Linked DNA regions of Homo sapiens: region 2 is linked to region 1. Evidence: promoter capture Hi-C in human tissues and cell types (Jung and others, 2019). All regions are on one chromosome and are shown on one strand. The core of a region is centred on a gene start or on the middle of the fragment in contact, and the rest is flanking DNA. Distances in the headings are between cores, read along the strand shown. Region 1 holds the start of ZFP36 (ZFP36 ring finger protein). Region 2 holds the start of SERTAD3 (SERTA domain containing 3).

The links. The method cuts DNA at HindIII sites, captures the fragments that hold promoters and counts their contacts. A contact is called where the count stands out against the background at its distance.
Region 2: the fragment with the promoter of SERTAD3 here is called in contact with the fragment with the promoter of ZFP36 in region 1 in 1 of the 25 tissues and cell types used here (spleen).

Annotation. Positions count from the first base shown.
Region 1 is chr19:39,405,439-39,408,389 of GRCh38, reverse strand. ZFP36 (ZFP36 ring finger protein) reads right to left here and starts at 1,543. Exons shown (of 2, transcript NM_003407.5): 1 at 1,462-1,543; 2 at 1-647. The coding sequence starts at 1,485. RefSeq lists enhancers at 1-491, 492-1,129, 1,180-1,379 and a silencer at 1,500-1,949. The HindIII fragment of the contact is 20,061 bases long and covers 1-2,951 here.
Region 2 is chr19:40,442,876-40,445,826 of GRCh38, reverse strand. SERTAD3 (SERTA domain containing 3) reads left to right here and starts at 1,492. Exons shown (of 2, transcript NM_203344.3): 1 at 1,492-1,612. SERTAD3-AS1 (SERTAD3 antisense RNA 1) reads right to left here and starts at 1,310. Exons shown (of 2, transcript NR_187496.1): 1 at 1,199-1,310; 2 at 564-937. RefSeq lists silencers at 961-1,180, 1,241-1,560, 1,741-1,800, 2,266-2,645. The HindIII fragment of the contact is 14,341 bases long and covers 1-2,951 here.

The sequences.
Region 1 (2,951 bases), core at 294-2,793:
TCCCCAGGTGGTGGTGGGGAGCTGGAGGGCGAGAAGGAGCTGGAGGACAGGGAAGGGCCGGCCAGGCCTGGTGGTGGTGGTGAGGTCCGGCGGCCAGAGGGCAGGCCGGAGAAGCTGATGCTCTGGCGAAGCACAGGAGGGTGGCCCGGGGCCGCCAGGTCTTCGCTAGGGTTGTGGATGAAGTGGCAGCGAGAGCCGTAGGGGCAGCGGCCCTGGAGGTAGAACTTGTGACAGAGTTCCGTCTTGTATTTGGGGTGGCGATTGGCCTGGCGCAGCTCGCCCAGGCCATGGGCAAACTGGCACTTGGCCCCGTAGCGGCAGCGCCCACTCTCTGAGAAGGTCCGACATAGCTCAGTCTTGTAGCGCGAGGGGGTGGTGGAGGTTGCAGTGGGCGAAGTGGGTGAGGGTGACAGCTCAGGGCCCAGGCGGGGAGCCAGCGGTGCGAAGCCAGGGGGTGGGGGCACCCAGCCACAGCTGCGGCCCTCCACTAGGCTGGTGGAGCGGCCAGGCAGGCGGGAGGTGACCCCAGACGGGCTGGAGTCGGAGGGGCTCAGGCTCCAGGGTCCCGAGGAGCCCCAGCCTGGGCTGGACTCAGTCCCTCCATGGTCGGATGGCACGGGCACGTCAGGGCTCAGCGACAGGAGGCTCTGCGGAAATGGGTCGGTTAAGGCACCTGAAAATGCAGGGCGACGCCCCACCCCAGCTGCAGGGAACTAGAGCTTGCCAGGCCGGTTTGTGGGCTCCCCGCCTGAGCCCCACCCGCCCGCAGAAACCCCTGGGTTCCGGATGCCAGGAACCCAGAGTTGGAGGTTCTGAGTTTACCCACCACCGAGGCCTTATCCCGAGGGACCCAGGAATCCCGGCTTCCCCGGCTGGACCAAGAGGGGGACCCCGAAGTCAGGGCGCACCACTGTTTCCCAATTTTGGGTCTCTTGTCCTCCCCGGATATGACCCACGCGTCGGGATCTCCAGTTTCACAACTGGAGAAACCGGGCAAAGTTGACCTGGAAGTCCGGATTGCTTCGGTTTTAGGGTTCTCTGTCTCTACGGTCAGGGACTGGAGAGACAGAAGTCGGATCCCCCCACCCTGAGACTTCAGCCCCAGAGACGCCTCCGCGCAAAACCACGCCCTCAGCAACGACTAGGGGTGAGCCAGGTATGGGGGCCACTTCCGCCTCCAGGCAGCCTCGGTCTGAGAAAAGTTCTCCGACTTTCCACTTGCATGGGCCGCCCCACCCATGTTTGAGCGAAGAGCCGGGTGTCGCGGGTTCCATTTTCACCTCCAAATCACCAAGCTGGTCTGAGCGGGAGGCAGGGGCCCCAGGCTGGAGGGCGCGGCGCTAGGGAGCCCCAGTTGGAGAAGGGAGGCAAGCGTCCCGGGCTGGAGTTTGCGGCGCTAGAGAGGTGGGGACTCGGACTCAGGCATGCAGGTACCGGGGATGCCGTGCGGCGGGGACTCACCTCGTAGATGGCAGTCAGATCCATGGTGTAACGGTTGGCCATGAGGGGTGTCGGCCGAGAGTGGGAGCGCTGAAGTCAGGCTGAGGCTGGCACCGAGAGCCGGCTACTTATAGGAAACTGCAAGCACGGGGCGGGGCCGGGGCCGGGGCCGGGGGCGGGGCAGGAGGGGCGCTTCCCGGACGCGCGCCCCCGGCGCAGCCTGGCTGGCCCTGGACTGGTTCCCTTCCGCCCGGCCCTGGGCCAGGACGCGCCTGAGCTTGGCCGGTGGACAGCCGTGACCGAGCGGGGAATGCGTGGGGAAGGGGTGGGGGTGCGGATGGGGGGACGCCTGCCCAGTTTTCAAAGCTGGAGACTGAGGCTTGTAGAAGGAAACTGGGGCGGAGGTGGGGGCAGGGCCCCAGGGGCAATTGACAAGAGCAGAAGCCCGATGGGGGTGCGCGTGCGACACAGACGGATGGGGGCGGGGAGAGACGCAGAGGGGTACAGACAGGCAGACAGGCAGAGAGAAAAACATCGAGAGAGACACACACACCAAGAGACATACAGAGAGAGATAGACAGGGTGAGGAAGGGAGGGAAGACGGGGAGACAGAGACAGTCCCAGAGACAGATTCAGAGGGAGAAGAGGGTTGGGAGGATCACAAAAAGAAACAGAAAGGGGCTGAGCGCAGTGGCTCACACCTGTGATCCCAGCACTTTTTGTGTTTTTCTTTCCTTTTTCTTCTTCTTTTTTTTTTTTTTTGAAAGACGGGGTTTCCCTATGTTGCCCAGGCTAATCTCCAGCTCCGGGGCTCAAGCGATCCTCCCACCTCCGCCTCCCAAAGAGCTGGAATTACAGGTGTGAGCCACCAAGCCCGGCCAATCCCAGTACTTTCAGAGGATGAGGCAGGTGGATTACCTGAGATCAGGAGTTCAAGATCAGCCTGGGCAACAGTGAGATCCCATGTCTACAAAAAATACTATTTAAAAAAATTAAAAAGAAAAAGAAACTGGACAAAAAGGAGAAAGACTGTGAGAAATAAGCACTTACGGAAAGAAATCTGCAGAGCAAAGTGCCAAGAAAGAGCCAGCAGGCCTTGGAGGGGAATTCTCTGAGAACTGCCTGCCTTGTGTGGTCTCACTCCTAAACAGCCCAGACAGATAAGGAGACCTGGACTGCTCTCCCTCTCCCCACTTGCTGGGGTTGGGTGGGTGAGTGAGTGGGTTGGGTGGGGTCCAGGATACCTGGCAAGGCTGAAAAGGGGCCTCCTTTCCCAATTCACAGGGCGGCTCTAGCCCCCTCACCCTCGGGCGGATGATCTCTTCTAGGCTGAGTTAAGGAGAACTCACCTGGGCTGAGTTCTAAGTACTTTACGCACATTAATCCTAATGCCAGGTGGTATGCCCATTTAAGGCAGGAGGAAACCAAAGTGAAGTTACTCTCCTGCCCGGCTCACACCTGTAGTCCTAGCACTTTGGGCGCCCAAGGCAGGCGGATCACTAGAGCTCGGA
Region 2 (2,951 bases), core at 243-2,742, 1.0 Mb before region 1:
AGTCCATATAGTAACTGACAGTCCAGGACTGGGATGGCGGCACAGGAGGCCATGGAATCCTAGAATGGATCCTAACCCAACCTGGACTGCCAGGGAGGGCTTCGGAGAGGAGGAAACCTTTGAAATGTGTTCTGAGAAGCAGCCTGGGAATTGAGGGTATATTTTGAGGATGAGGAAACAAGTTTAAATATCCAGAGGCGAGAAGATTGCTTGAGGCCAGGAGTTCAAAACCAACCTGGGCAACACAAGAAAACCCCCCTCCCCCCTCCCCCATCTCTCTGTCACCCAGGCTGGAGTGCAGTGGCACGATCTCGCCTTCACTGCAACCTCAACCTCCCAGGTTCAAGCGATTCTCCTGCCTCAGCCTCCCAAGTGGCTGAGATTACAAGCGTGCGCCACCACGCCCAGCTAATTTTTGTATTTTTAGTAGAGACGGGGTTTCACCATTGTTGGCCAGGCTGGTCTCAAACTCCTGACCTCAAGTGATCTGCCCGCCTCCGCCTCCCAAAGTGCTGGGATTACAGGCGTGCGCCACTGCGCCCGGCAAAAAATAATATTAATAATAAAGATCCAGAGGCCTTTTATTGTCATGTTTGCGAACTTATTATGTACCTGGCATTGTTGTAGACACTGGGGTAAAGCAGGGAAGAAAACAAACAGAGAAAATCCTTTCGTTTTCCTGATGGGGTGAATGGGAGCTTGAAGCCATTTTAGAAAAACTGGAAGTGACTCAATGGGGCAGGATCGGAGAGAACCAGGAGAACGCATCAAGCAAGGTCGTGAGGGGCTTTGTGGCAAAAGGAAGGAGTTTGAAGTTTGTATTCGGGGTGGGTAGGAAGCCATGAACAGTAGCAGAGGAGTCATCTTGATGGAGCGGGGAAGGAAAGAGGGTGTCAGAAGACCCAGGTGGGACCACCAGAGGACGTGCTGAGAAAACCTGAGGATTAAGAAGGGGCCGCGCGGTAACGTATAGGGGGCGGGAGGGGCAGCAAGGGGGCGAGGCTACGATCGCCTAGGCAACGCGGGCCGCGCCACTCTATTGGCTGGTCTTCCGCTACGTCATCCCCCGCGCCCCAGCGTCCTCCCTCGGAACCCCGGGGGCGCGGCCTCCTCCGGTTGCTCGGCCCCGCCCGCCTGCACAGCGACTTGGGGAGGGGCATGCCAGCCCCTCTGGCTCCACGGTGGAGTCCAGGCCTACCATAAAGGAACCGCAGGGAGCAATGGTGACGATCTTGGAGCGAGGACTGTAGCTGAGTGGAAGGAAGCGGTTCTGTTGGACCGGCCGCCCTCCACCCCGGAGTCGCTGCCCCGCCCCCTGCCAGTTGCACTTCTTTAAATGGCCCGGGGCGCTAGGGAGGGGTGGGCGGATCCGGCGTCTCGGGGCACGGGCGGATGGCTCCGCCCAGCCAATCGACGCCCCGCGGCGGGCGGGACTCCAGCCAATCGCGGCTCGCGGCTCGGCTCCGGGGCGGGGCTGGTGGGCCAGAGGCCAGACGGAGAGGCCCCGCCGAGGTGAGCGAGGCTCCAACCGGTCACTGGTGGGTCCTGGCACTGGCGGGTCGCAACGCTGTGGGCGTTCCAGGAGGTGGTCGTGGCGAACCTGGCAGCTGCGGTGAGGAGTGGTCGCCTGGCTTGGGAATTTACCTTAGGCTGGGGGAGAGAGAAGCGCGCCCCGGGGACTTGCGGAGGCGGGGTCTGGGTGGGACCGGGGGAGGGGGCCTCAGATTCAGGGTGATGATAGGGAGGGTCTGGGGACCTGAGACTGAGTTCAAGACCCAGGAGGGGAGGCGAGGTTGTTGGGGCAGTATTTTCAAGTGGAGGGAGTTTGAAGCTGGGACGTTGGGCTTTTGGAGAAGCGAGAGAACAGAGGGGAGGAACTTTTGAGACAGGGAACCTGGAGATTCGATTCCACTTGGGTCTTCCGGACGGGTTGAATTCGGGGCTTTATCGTGTTCTGGAAAAGGTGTGAGAGGTACGGAGCTGAGATTCTGAGTATTTGGAGAAGCGAGAGAACTAGGGTCAAGGATTCTTGGGACTCCAAGACGCACTGGCGGGGGAAGGAGGTTGCCGGGAAGAGTTCAATGTTCGGGTCTTGGAGCCGGACAGCGAGTTTGGAGGTGAAGTCCAGGGGCGTTTGAAAGTCAGGAGACTAGGAGAAGTGGGAGGAAGTATCAGAATTAGGATACGTAGTCTCCCGAACTAGATCGGAGCATTGTCGTCTTTGAGCGATGTGTTCGGATCTGGGTCTCTGGATCCAAGGGCAGTTTGGAAGGAGAATCGCGGACTTTCAAGGAACAGAGGGACCGGGAGAAAGCAAATTTAGAGCCGGAGTCTGGGGTGGGGGAGGGGTGTTCCGGGCCTGGAGCTCAGACTCGCGGCCCCGGAGGCAATGGAGGGCGGGGCTCGGCAGGCGCCGGCAGCTGGACGTCCAGGTTCCCTTCCCCCACCCGCCTGTGCCCCTGTGCGCATGCCCTGAGGGAGAGCGGGGTGAGGGGGGTGGCTCGTCCCCTGGACGGGCGGAGCCCTCTGGGGATTGTAGTGCGTGCTCGACGTCAATTCGTGTACCTGGCGGCTGTTGGCCCCCGTTTCCCAGAAGCCCCTGGGCCAAATTGGGGCGTTCCTGGATGCTCTGTAAGGACCCATGGGGGGGCGGGGCCTTACAGTGTCGCGGTCTGATTGAGTGGGACCTCCGAGGGGGCGGGGCTTGGTCTGAGCTGAGTTCTAGCAAGTTTTCCTATGGGGCGCGCTTTGGGGGAATCTGAAAGCGTGGGCAGAGGGAATGAGACAGGCCCCTTTCCTACTCTTGGGAGCGCTCCCAGTCGGTTAAGGAAGAGGACATAGAAATATCCCGACTGTTGAAGAAGAATCTCAACATAGGTTCCCCAACAGGGCTCCAGGAGATTTCGAATATAGTAGGCACTCAGTAAATCTGTTGAGCGAATAACTGGCAA